Linked DNA regions of Homo sapiens: region 2 is linked to region 1. Evidence: promoter capture Hi-C in human tissues and cell types (Jung and others, 2019). All regions are on one chromosome and are shown on one strand. Each heading gives the region's core, a stretch centred on a gene start or on the middle of the fragment in contact. The rest is flanking DNA. Distances are from core to core; before and after follow the strand shown.

Region 1 (7,518 bases), core at 3,338-5,837:
AGGTTAACATATTTTTGTAATGATTTCAAATAAAGCTTCTCTTGTCACCTTACTGAATATGAACATCATATAAATGTACCATTAATCAGGAAGACTACAACACTGTACTTTCAAAAAAAGTTACTTTAGATTCTGCATGTTGACTCATGTAAAACTGTACAAGTGAATGTACTATTGCATACCTTTATGACTCAAGATTTTATACTGAACTAAAAAGGCAAAGATAAAACTGAATACAAAACTAACACTGTGATCTTTGGCCCCCATTTCAATTTTGTATTTATGGACTGGCTGACTTTACAAGAAAAGGTTACAAATAATTTCACCTTGCCGAGAGATGACTCATGCAACGTTGAAAATAACATATAAACATGAGTAGCTCTTTTTTTTTTAATCAAAACCATTATACAGCAATTTTGACAGAAAAAGTATCACTAATGAAAAGTATCATTAATTACTGGGTACAGGCATATAAAGTCACAGGTTTCCACACTCACTTTAAAAATCTGCTTAAGTTAAACAGCTCAAAGCTGAATTCAGTGCTTTAAAAAAATTGTATCAAAAACCTGTCTTTATCTATAAATCAAAAACTACAAAATTCATAAGCCCTAGCCAAAACAAAAGTCCATTTATTTCAAGGAAGAACCCTATAACTTTCCTACCTGTACTGTCCCTGAAAATTCAATGTTATAGACACTGGCCTGAAATCATTTACTGAGTCTACTAAAAGGGCATTCTCTCCTGTCTACCTCTCAGAAGAAATTCCAATTGCTATAGGACCCCTAAATTCTCAGGGATACAAGAAAGACATGTAGGAGGATTGGAAACGATTAGGATGTATTTTAAGACTGAATGCAGCAATCAATGCAGACTAAAAAGCAGCAATCAGACATTTCTACACTTGTCAAGTGCTCATTCTAAACGATGAAAACTACAGACTCCAGGGCTCATAAATTGCTTACCATTTTTTTTAAAGCTGTTTGGATATACTACATAGAAGTAATAGCTACCATGAACATAGTTTGAGTTTAAAGTCTTTTAAAAAGTTTGAGTTTTAGGTTTTAAGGGGTGCGGACTGGGGAGTAAAAGATGAAGGGAAAGAGAAGAGAGCAAGTTAATGTGTTGATTTAACTGCAAAATAATAACAGGATGTAACAGAGTTCTGAGTATCCAAAGTGACCAATCAGAGCCTAAACATAGCTGAATTCCATCCCAGCCCCAGCACGTCCCTAACACAAGAATAAAACCCTTATCTTGTTCAGCCATGTGTCGCCTGCCACAAACTGCAAAACAGAACAACGCCCAAAACCAGCTAGTCTGATTTCAACTGAGGACAGACAGACTCTGTAGTCAGAAGCACCACAATGAAAGAACTCTAACTCACACAGCTGGCCTGGTGGTTCTGCACACTCTACGAAACAAAGCCATACCACATACAGCACTTCAAACTTGAAAGGATCTCTATCTAAAAAGCTACACTGGTGCTGTTAATTTTCCAACAGTTCTAGAGTCAGCAAAATATACCTACAGTAAGAGTTAGACACTACGAAAAAAGGATGAGGTAGGGCTGACAGAAAGCTAGAAACTATTATATACTCGTAACTTTGTTAAGACACCTTGGCAGAGAAATAATACTAAACCAGTACCTCCAGATTTCACCCCAACATATATTCATATTAGGAACAACTACTCTCTTAACAGCAAATGGATGCTTTATATTTACAAAATATATTTAAATGTGGTCAAATAAGAATAATTCTTAATAAAAAAAGACCCTAGTAAAAAAAAATCCTACGAAACAGGTCTCAGCAGTGCTTATTAATTGGCTTTCCAAGGTCTTTTCTTTAAAAAAAAAAAATGTAAAATTAGGCAGCAGCACCTGAACCAGTTCAAAAAACATTAATGCCCAAACCAATTTGCAGATTAATCTTACAATATTCATTTTGTAATCTCTTGTGCCTGCACAGTGCCTGGCCAAAAAAAAAAAAAAAAAAGAAAAAGAAAAGAAACAGGCTTTCAGTAATTTCATATTTATTGAATGTTTATATGCCATCTACGTTATAAAGAGGATACAAATTCCAAGATTCTATTTCCAAGATAACGAGAAGACAAGGAAAATCCCTGAGAAGCAATGCTGAAGAAAAACCATTACTTGAGGGCTTTTCACTCACTTGTGTGTGGAATGAGTCCGTTCTGTTTCCATAAATTAAACACCTCAGCATCGCAATGAAAACCAACATTACATTAGTTCCTAGCAAGACTTTTGTTTACAGGCTCAACAGAAAGAGCGAGAATTGAATGAAGCAGGAAAACAATTATCCCCACACCCGTAAAAGTGATTTCTCAGAAGCAAAACACCCTGAAAGGAAAAAAATGGGGATAACCAGAAGAAAGTAAGATAAGCATTGTCAATACTTATCTTAAGTGTATTCTTGGAAAAGTTAAAAATTATTTCATTGAAAATGAAAACCCACTTTGAAAAATACACAAAGAGTAAATATAAATACTTTAAATATTTAACAGACTCTTTTAAGTGAACATTCATGTGATGCTGGAAAGCATCAACAGGAAGAGGAAGTTCTGTTTCTGGAGTAGCTGTTATGGTATGATAATGGAATTTGGCCCTTTTAAAATCAACAAATGAGTCTTACAATTGGGTAAAACTCTTATTAGGAAATTAAGACTACTTTGTGCAGAAGCACTATTGTTGCACTTTTCATCAAAGAGCTTTGGCCCTCTAATTCAGTTACTTGATCTATTTTTTCACGGTGTAATAATTCGAAGACTGACTTAAAAATAAAGCAAGCTGACAAATTTGGGACTAGCATGCAGTGTCATAATTAAATTGAGAATGAAATGTGGTCAAGGAATCAATATGCTTTTTATCCCTTACCCTATAAACAAGAGTAACTTAGGATAAGCAAACTGCACTTCAACCACACATGGTCTAGCTCAATTCGCCACCCACCACCATGCAACACTGGTAGGTGCTATAAAGGACAGACACAGAACTCAACAAATTCAGCTGCGCGCTTACACTATGCTTACGGCTTATATCTCTTAAACGCCAAGTGTTTCTGGAAGACGAAATATTTAAATACAAGAATTAAAAGCAAACCCCATGATTTACCCTCATTTCTTCAGCTCCTGGACATTGCTTCCAGCAAGAACCTGTGATTTACTGGTAATGTCAACATTCTGGAAAGTTATTAGATAATAATTAAACACCGTGCAGGTCAACATCTGAAAGAGATCAAGTTCCCAGATCACCATGCAGTAGGCTCAACATTAAGTTCACAGGTAGAAATTCCTAAAATGTAATTGTCTTGAGAATCTACTGCAGGACACGGCTAAAGCTGATAAATAATACACCAATACCGAGCCGACTTCAGGCACCGACCTTCACCTAAAATGACCTTCTCCTCTGATTTCCAGACGAGTACACAATCCTAATGCACACTACAGGCGGAAAACCACAATCATGGTTTTGCCTCCCCCTTCTCTGAGAATCGGAAGGGAAGTTTCTCTCCGGAAAAATTACATTTCCAAAAGCCAATCAACTGGATAACTCGGCAGCAACCCCAGGCTAACTGCACAGCTCCGAAACAACCCTCTTTCCTCTGCCTGTCAACTTCGCTGGCCAAAGGCAATCTGCAATCACCGACTCCCCTGCTAGGTCGGGCCCGATTCCGGGAGGCCGAACGAAGGAGGAATTCATACCAACCTGTCGGTGATAGTAGACTGTGTGCCACTCATTGGGGCCCTTGGCGAGAGGTCCTCCTTTTATCCAACTTGCATTTTACAGTAACACCTCCTCCCCACCCCCAGTGCTCTGGGATCAGGCCCAACTCCGTCAGGGACACAAAAGTCCAACTCAAAACTCCATTCAGTCATCTAGACCATCCGACTGTAAGGGGTCAACGGATGCGGCTTGGAGCAAAACAAGTTATCTCCCAAAACGAACTGAGAAAGCCAGGGAGCGAGTCAGTCCAGAGTGAGTCGAGCTAGAGAGAAATCCTCCAGAAGGCACAAGGATAAACTTCCTCAGAGAGGGAAATCCGCGCGCAGTGGGAAGGGGACCCGGGACTCCCGCCGGGGCTGGGGCGGGATCAGCTCACGGACGGGTGTCGGCTCCTCCTCCGGAGTCTCGGGGCCTCGAACTCCCCGCCGCGGCAAGGGCCGGGGCCCTCCCTCCCGGCTCTCTATCTGGGGCTGCCGGCTGCTCGTGGCCGCAGCGTTGGCCGCGTCTCCGGCCGTCCCGCGCCGGGCTCGCGCGATTCCATGTCCCGGGCCCGGGGCTCCTTCTGTGCTCGCCGCCCTCACCAGGCTCCCGGTGCTGGGACGAGCCGCTGGCGCCGGCGGAGAGGTCCCGCGGCCCGAGGTGACAGGGACCCGGGTCTCTCAGCGCCGCGGACTGCTCCCCATCCCTTTGAGGCCCGGACTCTTCCGCAATCGCCAGAGGCGGCGGCTCCTCCCCGACGCTCCCCGCGAGGGGCGGGAGATGCCCGTCCGGCCCGGCCTGGAAGCCCTGGTCCGGGAGGCGGAGGCGGCGGCGTCTCCCGGCGCAGGGCCGGCTCGCCGGGTTCTGGAGGCCCTCGCGGGCGCGCGCGCAGACAGCGGAGGAGGCCGGCGGCCGTGGGGGCCGCGCAACCGCGGGCGCGCGCGCGGGTTCCGGTTCCGGTTCTGGTTTCCCGGCCCTGGCCGCGTCCGGCGCGAGCTCGCGCTTCCCGTCCCCCGCCGACTTTATGGCCCCCTCCCCTCTGACTTCGGGAAGCCGCCTCACCCGGGATCCCTCCGCCGCTCAGGGCCGCGCTCTCGCCCTTGAACGGACGCCTCCGCCGGAGCCCGGTTTGGGAGAGCGGCAAAGTAGTCCTACGGGGCAGAGGGAGGTGGGACCCGTGCAGCCCCGGGAGGCCCACCCACCTCCCGCGGCGCCTGGGCCCCTGAGTGCCGAGACATGCCCCTTCGAGTCCAGTTTGTACTAAGTCGACTTTCACCAGAGACCGCCCGAGAGCGCCCCCCAGATCCCGAGGACATCGTGCCGGGAGGCTCTTTGAAAATTACCAGCCCCCCTTGTCCTGGAAACTTTTATTACTTAAGGGAATGTATTATCTCTCCTGTCTTCTGGCTGCACGCGTTCTGCCGGTTCCCGGCCGGCGCCCCTCGCTGCCTCCGCAGGCCCCGCTCACCTGGGCACCTGCCGGCTCCGGGGGGAGAGCGCTGCATGAGCCGGAGGCGCAGGGCTGCGGGAGAGCAGCTGGGGACTGCAGCCAGGGTTTCTCGGTATAAATATTACTTTTAGGCTGTTTCTGCCTTGGCAAAATGAAATGTGTTATTTGCCAAATTGATAAAGCATGGTGCTTTCCATGGCGACTTAACAAGCGTGTTGTGGAAAGAACTGGGAGAAGAAAATGAAGTATATTTATCCAGTAAATAGCATTACGGTTCTCTCTGAAGGATTCCCAAACGGTTTTTCGGTTTTTTCCCCTACTGGGTAGAGAGCTTTAGATACCCATCTAGTTTTATGATTGAATAATTCAGTATTTTGGCAATTTAGGTACCACATGTAATACAGTTCTTCAGTTCTGCCTGCAAACATCCAAAGTGGCTATTCCCTTTATCCAACTATTTTCAGACTTTTGAGCTTAAACCTATGTTGGTGACAAGGGATTTCAGCCATTTTGTGGAATCCAAGTAGCAAATCAAATCTAATAAACAGTGGATGTGGAGAGAGGAAACAATTACCTCTTAACAATGCTGTTGCAAAAAGTCATTCCGCAACAGTTCATGAAAGGATCATTATCCCCGAATAGAGGCATGAGCTCACGCTGACGTTAGTTAGAACGGGGGGGAAAAAAAGGAAAAGATAAACAGAGACCAGAGACGACTCTTTATTGCTCGATTTTTTAGGTTCAAGGCACAGCCAACTAATTTTGTAATGTTTATTTTTGGAAAGAATAGAAGCAGATTAGCCAAGGCACTTCCCTAATGATGAGACCAGGACACATTGCCACCTGCTGGTGTATTCTAGCATGACAATTCTACCCTGAAGACTCTTAAATTGAGTGTTTACATGCAACCGGAAGGAATCCCATTCATATATATATATATATATATATATATATATATATATATACACACACACACACATATACACATATACACACATATATACATATATACACATATATATACATATATATACACATATATATACACACATATATACATATATATACTGACCAAAATGCAAACCTTATCCCCAAACTTAATAAATCTTTCTTAAAAGTACTAAATATCTTATTTTCCCCTATCCTAATAATGTTACAGTGTAAGTATAAAATTAATTGAACCCAATGACTCATCAAATCATGCATTTTGGAGTTCCTCTCTTCCCTTAATACTTGAGGGAAGCCTCAATACTTAAGCTTCAGGAATAAAACAAACTGGGAAAGTTTCCTAATTCACCTTCTCTTCCTTGCATACAAAACCTCTTGGCAAGCTGCTTTCAAGATCTTTCCAAACTTAAACAGACCCACGGTTCTAGCTGTGAGCAAAGAAGGCATTTTGCTGTGGGAAAGCTTCAGAAGATGGTAAGCAAAAGATTGAATTAAGCCAGTGGTTATTCATTCCAGAACTAATTTTTTTAAATGATGAAAATCTCTATAGTCACCTACAAAGCATTAATGATTTAAAAAAAAAAAAAACTGAAAGCCTCTTTAAAGCTGCCGATAGCTCAACTGTTCTAAAGGCTGTAACTATAGGATGCCTTCAGAAAGTCAAGCCAGTCTGGGTAGAACACACTCCTCAGGGTCCGTAGTACTTTACTTAGAAAAATGACATTGATGACCCAATCCACTGGGAAAACCTTTGAGGAGGTTTTCCAATGGGGATGATTCTAAACCACATTCTCATCCTCTTGTCCATTCTTTCAACATGCTTACTAAGTATCTACTATGCATCCCAGACTGTTTTAGGCATTGGTAGTACAGTCCTCAAGACAGGGCCTCCAGCTGTCTTCAGATGATGTCTCTGATGTCAACTCACTTGACATCAACATTTTCAAGACAAGTGTCCAAACAGGTGGCAGAACAAGAAACACATTAAGGTTCTTCCTCTCTCTTTTGGCAAACTGTTTTGTGTATGTCAACTGTTACCCCCCAAAATAAAAAAAAATAGGGGGAATGATGGATAATGAACAGCAGATTAGAGATATTCACTAGTAAGTATGAATACAGGTCAACATTTCTACAGGTCAAAAGGCTTTTTTTAACTTCTTGGCAAAACCACCACATAAATATAAAGACAGACTCTGGGTTTATAAAAAGTTGTTTTACTTTTATAAAATTTAGTACAAATCTTATGGAAATATAAATCGTTCTTGAACAGTGTTCGTTATCATTACACAGTAATCCAGTGCAAATGAGTACTTCATTTTGTCCAAGTATACCACACATTAATTAGCCCTTCATTTACCTGTGGTTTCAGAACTTAGCATTGTCTTAACTGCTGAGTCAT
Region 2 (7,518 bases), core at 3,294-5,793, 580 kb before region 1:
GTGGTTTTAGACAGTAATAATTTCTTTGAAGATCATAAAACAGGGTAATGTGGTAGAAGGTGACTAAATGAGAGGATGGGGGTCCTTCAGGGTGGCAGAGAAAGAACACGTCTCAGAAAAGGGGACGCCAGGCTTAGACAGAGATAATGAAATGGAAATAGACTGGAGATTTGGGAGACAGGTTTTTGAAAGAAGAAGGCGCAAATGTGAAGGCCACATGCTGGAACTGACCATGCTGTGTCCAAGGAACCAAGAGGAGGCCAGTGAGTGTGGGGCACTTGAGGGGAGATGCAGAGATGTAGACTCTGGATTAGTTCTTCCAGATGGAAGGGATACTGGTGAAATTGTGGCTGGTGCCAGGCAGGGCATAGAGGAAATGTTTATGCTCATTGAAGATGTGAGCAAATGGTAGCCCATGAAGATTCAGATACTAATTTATGGTTCTGGGACAGACCCTGGCTTCCAACTCAAAATTATATTTCTCTAAGCCCAAGAGGACTAGTGGGTGCTCCACCACTGCCATTGCCTGGATACCTAATAAGAGGGGGCTCAGACACCCCCACCTCCTGGGGGGAATATGTGAGGGCAAGAAGAGAGTAGGTTGGAACAGCGCATATAACCTTGGAAGGCTGCTGGGCCTCTCCCCAGTAGGATCAAGACTGGACACATGTGCACTCTGTGTTGATGAATGACGCTGCTGTGGTCTGCATGGCAAGAGGAATGAACCCAGGCCGGCCTGGGAGAGGGAAGACTGGGGCCTGGATGAGCATGTCCCAGGGGAGCAGGCAGACATGCACGTAGATGGGCATGTGTTTGGGGACCGAGGTGGGTGAGGCTGAGGAGCTGAGCTCCAGGCCAGAAGAGGAGGTGAAAATACAGCCCTACGTGGGGAGGGAAGGAGAGGAGAGAGCGAACACTCACAGAGCGTCCACAAAGTGCAGGCACGCTACAGGAATTATATTCCATTTATTTCTCATAGTAATCCAGGGGTGGGTACTATTATTTTCATTTTGAGGGTGAAGACACCAGGGTTGAGAAACGTTGGGAGACTTGTCCAAGTCCACACAGCTCATAGCTGGCAGAGCAGCGATTTGTACCTAGGTGTCCAGTCGGGATGGAAGGCAGTGTGAGGACAGGGGTGGGCACATTCCTCCCATTTTACTACCACCTGTATGCTGACAACTTCCAAATGGGGTTCAGGCCCAGTGCTGCCTCTTGCCAGCCTTCCTCACTCCCCCTACCTACTGACTTCCTATACCCATGTCTAATTCCTTATCTCTGCCGTCTAAAGCTACTCTTTCCCTGTGTGCCATTAATGACTTCCCCATCCGTCATCCCAGAGACCATGAATCAGCCTGGAGTCTTCCCTCTCCCTCCCTTCCCTGTTGTCTCCCCATTCAATAACCAGGCCCCATCCCTTTTACCTCTGAAACGCCTGTTGAATCCATCACCACCACTTGACTCTCACTGCCCCTACCATCATTAAAGCCTTCCTTTGAATTATTCAGTAGCTTCTGCACTGGTCTCTTTGCTTCCAGTTCTTTCCCACGCCATCCATCCACTCAGCTGAGACTCAAGCAGCATTGGGAATCAGTGGTTCTCAAACCTAAGCTCGAATCAGCACCACCTGGAGGGCCTGTTAAGTTGCAAATTGTTGAGTCCCACCCCAGAGTTTCAGGTTAAGTAGGTCTAGATGGGGCCCCAGAATTGGGATTCTGACAAGTCCCAGGTGTTGCTGATGCTACTCGTTCAAGGACAATACTTTGAGAACCGCTGCTCTAAAGTTTACACCAAAGATCTAATATTACTCATCTTCTTTAAAAACTCCAGTTACTCTCCACTCTCTTTAAAATGGAGTCCCAGCTCCTTCCCATGGTCTAAGTGATTGTCACCACCCAGCTGAGGCTTGCCTCTTCAGCATCACCTTAAGCTGCTGACCTCTCTTCAGCCTGCGATGTGGACACAATGCACTCTTCATGTTCCTTAAACTTGGCATACATTTCAGACCTCACACCGTTCCCTCTGCCGGCAACTCTCTCCTCCTTGTCGCCTGTCAAATTCCTACTTGTCTATCAAGGTCTGACTTGACGGCACTTCCCTGAGAGGCATTGCAGTGGTTAGAATGACCGTGGGCTTTGATGTCAGACAGGTTTGGCTTTGAATTCCAGATCAATCACTTGTTAGCTGTGTGACCCTGATTTGGCCTTCTCTGTTAAGCCAAAGTCAACCTTGGCATCTTGGTTATGAAATATGAATAATAATATTTATCACGTAAGATTGTTATGTGGAGAGGAAATGATGCATGATAAATGCCTGGCAGGTAGTAGGTATTCAATAAACACTGGCGACAATTCTCATTAGCTCTGCTCTGAAGCCTTGCCTGGCTTCCTCCGGCTGAAATGCTTCCCTCCTTCTCTGTGCTCCCATACCATTTTGCGTAGGATTCCCTTTTGTATATATCACATGCTAACGTCTCAAACTAACTTATACACCGGGTCTCATTCCCAGTACAGTTGGGGACGTTGTATGAATTATAAAGATTGGCCCTCTGAGCAGACTTAGTGGGCACATGCCTTGGCAAGCTAAAGGCATTTTTGTAGGAAAAAAATCGACAAGTAGATACCCCCCCATCCCAGAGCACGTGTTTGGTGAGCAGAGTGAGGGCTGGGTTTCACACCCCATTCCTCCTTCACCATGTCTTAACCTGCACAAACCATACATGGAGGTCCTATGTATACAGGATGTGAACTCTATGAAAGTAAAAACTGTGTGAACTCTATGAAAGTAAAAGCTGAAGGCACAACCAATATGGAATCAATGCATCTAGAGGCAGGCACCACTGGCTGAGGATGGTAAGTACATCAGAATGGGTCAATAGGGTTGTCACCCCGGGTTCAGGAATAGGATTCTTACTCCTGAGGGGAAGGGGAGTGAGAGAACCAGTTTGGCAAGCTCAGAGACTTAGGCTTGGGGAATCATCAGAAGCTGGATTTCTCAGTCTGGGTGGGAAGGAGAGCAAGGCAGAGGAGGCTTGGTCCCTGCGTGCTGAACTGGAGCTCCTGAAAGCCTCCCTGGTCTCAGACCAGAGTCTGGTGTCTGGCCAAGCCCACAGGTAACATCCTCATCTCTGCTGTGTGGCTGGGGAATCGAGACTAGAGAATTCTTAGAAGACATTAAGATCACATTGTCTGTAGCTTCCTTTCCTGTCTCTGACCCAAATCAATTCCCTACCACCTGTCTCTTCTGCTTAGCAGCAAGCTGATCTCTTAGAAGGCTTTCAGATGCCTTAATTAATACATTTTCATTTCCTTTGCAGACCCTTCACTCCCCTTAACAGCTGGCGCTCAGTGGGGAAGGTGGAAATAATTCCCAAGAACTGATAAGTTTCCCAGGCTGCTTTGAGATGCCCAATGGGGTTTGAAGGAGCTCCCAGTAGGAAGCTGCTAAGGGAGCACTGAACCTAACTGAACTCCAAACCCTTCCAGATCCCCCCGGGCAACTCCTTCCATGGAAAATAACCAGCACAGGGATCTGAGGATGGGCGGGGAAAATTCTGAAGTCTGTTTCAAATCTGTGGCTGACTGTCTCTGGGCCTGGAGACTGCTCTCCCAGAGACAGGGATTTAAGCAGCGCACCTGCACGGGTGACGCTCCGATGTCATTCCTTAGTCCTGCCCTGCTCGGGGCTCCCAGCCATGTACTCACACCTACACTTTATTATCTTACATGCCTGTGCCCCCCTTGCCTTTTACCGCCCGGTCTGTAAGCTTTCAGAGACAGAACCAAACCTGATCTGTTCCTTTACCCCACACCCCAGCACAGTGACTGGCACATAGGTGTTAAATCACTGTCTGCTGATTGATTCATAAATGGAAAGCCTGGCTTTCTTTTCTTTTCTTTCTTTTTTCTTTCTTTCTTTCTTTCTTTCTTTTTTTTTTTTTTTTTTTTTTTTTGAGACGGAGTTTCGCTCTTGTTACCCAGGCTGGAGTGCAATGGCATGATCTCAGCTCACGGCAACCTCCGCCTCCCGGGTTCAAGCAATTCTCCTGCCTCAGCCTCCTGAGTAGCTGGGATTAGAGGCATGCGCCACCATGCCCAGCTAATTTTTGTATTTTTTATCAGAGACGAGGTTTCTCCATGTTGGCCAGTCTGGTCTCGAACTCCTGACCTCAGGTGATCCGCTCGCCTCGGCCTCCCAAAGTGCTGGGATTACAGGCGTGAGCCACCACACCTGGCCGGAAAGCCTGGCTTTCTAAGCCTTGGGTTGATGCAAACCTGCTGAAGGAAGCACTCCCTAGGGGAATGCAAGCGCCCCTTATCTGAAATGCTTGAGACCAGAAGTGTTTCGAATTTCCGACTTTTTCAGATTTTGGAATATTTTCATAAACATAATGAGGTATCTTGGGAATGAGACTCAAGTCTAAACACGAAGTTCATTTCTGTTTCATAGACACCTTAGACACGTAGCCTGAAGGTAATTTCATACAATATTTTAAATAATTTTGTTCATGAAACAAAGTTTTGACTGTTTTTGACTACGACCCTTCATGAGGATAGGTGTGGAATTTTCCACTTGCGGTATCACATCGAAGCTCAACAAGTTTCAGACATTGGAGCATTTCAGATTTTGGATTTTCAGACTAGAGATTCCTAGTATTACCTATGTTACCACTTCACCGTGTTTCAGGCACTGTGTTAGGTGCATAAGGATGTCAAGATGCATAAGACATTGTACTTTCCTTCAAAGAGTTGCCAGTCTTACTTCCACTAGGAATCCATCCTGGTTGTCCCGATTCAGAAGTCATTTCTGCCCCTACCTTCCTAGTCATTTACGATGTACTTTGCTATGTCTAATACAGCACTTATCCTGTATGACCTCATTAAAATAACTTCTGCTCGCATCTGTCTGCCTTTTTAGCTGAAAGGCTCCTAGAGGAAAAGGACCTGACTTCAACTCCTAGCACTCCTGGGCGTTAGCTTCTTGGGGCTCTGTTTTCTTAGTCTGAAAAACGAGGTGGTCATAAGAAGTCCAGTTTCCAGATAAGAGGGTTGAGGACAGAAGTGTCAGCCAAATGTCCCTGTCAAACTGGCCACTCAGAGCCACCTCCTTGTTTACCATTCTCCTGGGCCAACTTATTCCTTCCTCCTCATTCTTCTAGGAGGCTGATGCAGAGAACAAGACGATGCCACCCAAGTCATCCTTTGTTCCAGACACCAGTTCTCACATGCCCCTTTGGTGCAGTGAGAAGAGCCCAAGATTGGGGTCTGAGTCTGGGCTCTGGCCACTTGCTGTGTGTCTGAGCTTGGATTAATTATGGAACTCTCCAAGCCTCTGTGCCCTCATCTGTGGAACAGAGTAATAATTCCTGTCTCATGGGTCATGTAAGGATCAAATTAACTCATGAGTGTAGAGCTTCTACATGGTGTCTGGCCTTGTCAGGAGTTATAGCACCCTGCTTCTACTCCCTTCCCTCCTGGTGGCTCGGCTTTGAACTAGGAAGACATGTGAGCAAGGGTCTGGAGCACATGAGATCCCCATTCAGACCCCCTATAAGCCAAGGGAAGCCAGAGGACAGGGCAAATCAGAAAGCCACAGCAGAGCCCTCCACCGAGCGCAGGTAGGGCATTGGCTGGGCTCGCACGGTTGGCAGCTGCGGCTCCAGAGGCCCAGCGGCAATCTTCTGGGGTGTGCGCACCTCACTCCTGAATGGAGGAGAGGGAGGCCATCAGAGGGAGAGAGGGAGATGAGATGGGAGAGCCCAGCCGCAGCCTGGCAGCCGATACAGACATCTCAGAAGAAAAAAAGGGCGGCTGCAGTCACGAAACTGCCATTATTGCCCTTTTCTCAGGTGAGTGAAAGGACTCCTACTGACAGAAAAGAACCTTTTGGGAACTCACAATGAAGCAGAGTGTTGTGGAGAGAGTGCATGAACATGTTTGTGGCTAAGGTGCAGTCCAGCGCGCTGGCCCCTTTATTTTCAAGTACACCTGTCTGTGAATAATGAGCTGGAGAAGATGGATTTCCTCCCTTCCCAGGTCTCAGTGGGTTGCATGCAGGGATCGCTATGTGGCATGCATCTCTCAAGGAGCCATTGTAGAAAGGACCTTCCCAGGGTCAAACAGCCAATCCCTTCTCCCCTGAGAAGCAGGACGACCTTAACCCATGCTTGAAGGTCTACAGGAAAGGGGAGCTCCCTGCACTCACTGGGTCCCAGACTCAAATGCTGAAGTCCCCACACAGCCATAATCCTCTCTTGGGCATCCTCACAGTCACTGCTTAATTCAGACCCCATTCCATTCTCCTGATCACTGGACAGCTGTCTAATGAGTAAACCTGCATCTGGTCTTCCCACCTCCAATCCGTCCCCCTCTCATCTGCTAGAGTAACCTTCTGGAACCAAAGGCAATTATGCCACTCCCCTCTTTGAATAAAACAAACAAACCACCTGCTCTTAGACAGCTCCCACTAGCGCTCTGGACATAGTTTATAAAGATCCAAACACATAAACCCTATCACGACTGGCCCCTGCCTACAGCCCTGTTCTCCTCCACCCCCTCTCATGCTTGGCTCCAGTTGTCCAGAACCAACGGCACTGCAGTGTACATTTCTCACCGTCCACCTCACCTAGAATATAATATCCTTTTCTGCCAAGGCGATCCTTCTTGATCCTCAGTGCTCTGCTCACTCGTCATTTCCTTGGTGAGCTCTTCCCTACTCCTGTACCACACCTCGCTCAACTTCTGTCAAAGCCACCCCTGCCACTCACTACTCATGGGACTTTGAGCAGGTTCCTTAACTGTTTTGCCACCTCACCTGCCACATTCAGTTATTGTGAGGCTTGAGTTAATACAGTCAAGTGCTCAGAACAGTGCCTGGCCCATAGGAAGCACTTCATACCTGTCAGCTGCTGTTATTACCATCATTATAACTATTATTAATATAGCATGTGTCACACTGTACAGTAATTCTTGGTTTACCTGTCCGTCTCTTTGAGTAGATCCTGAACTCCTTACAGGCAATTCCTCATATCCAAGCGGTGCTTGTCAGACAGCACGCACTTTGATGAATGAATGAATGGTTGAATTATAACAGAAGCTCATCTCTTTCAGATTTGCATAAATGCAGAAACTAAGCCTTAATGGGGAAGGTAAAGCAAAGCCCTCGCTGAGCTCGGCTGTCACACGGGGAAGGAGTGGAACACTCCACTTTGGCCCCTGGATCAGTATCTTTATTTTAAAGAATGCTGAATAGAATTCTGTGACCTATTTGTAGTTAAAATAGTCTCTGGCTTCAAGGTGAAAAGTAATCTCAGGGGACCACTTGTATTTTTTTTTTTTTTTTTTAGTTCAGCAAAATGTCTCCGGACAACCTTCCCAGTGAATTGAGGCCACGAACAGCCTGACCCACCAGGCCTCTGGGAAGCTCCCTCCACAATCCTTTCTCCTGGGCACCCAGGAGAAAAAATGGAATGAGGCGTTTCAGCTTCATTTACACTTAATTCATCAAAATGTCATTGGT

The links. Contacts are between HindIII fragments. The study calls those that stand out against the background at their distance.
Region 2: a fragment that was not itself captured here is called in contact with the fragment with the promoter of ARHGEF12 in region 1 in 1 of the 25 tissues and cell types used here (lymphoblastoid cells).

Annotation. Positions count from the first base shown.
Region 1 is chr11:120,333,482-120,340,999 of GRCh38, reverse strand. ARHGEF12 (Rho guanine nucleotide exchange factor 12) reads right to left here and starts at 4,587. Exons shown (of 41, transcript NM_015313.3): 1 at 3,725-4,587. The coding sequence starts at 3,756. It overlaps TLCD5 (TLC domain containing 5), which reads right to left. Exons shown (of 3, transcript NM_001198671.2): 3 at 7,314-7,518. RefSeq lists a silencer at 4,131-5,000. The HindIII fragment of the contact is 7,839 bases long and covers 1-7,214 here.
Region 2 is chr11:120,913,682-120,921,199 of GRCh38, reverse strand. The region is part of intron 13 of GRIK4 (glutamate ionotropic receptor kainate type subunit 4); the gene reads right to left. Among named protein-coding and RNA genes, the nearest start is that of TBCEL, 110 kb to the left of the region's middle. The HindIII fragment of the contact is 5,965 bases long and covers 1,561-7,518 here.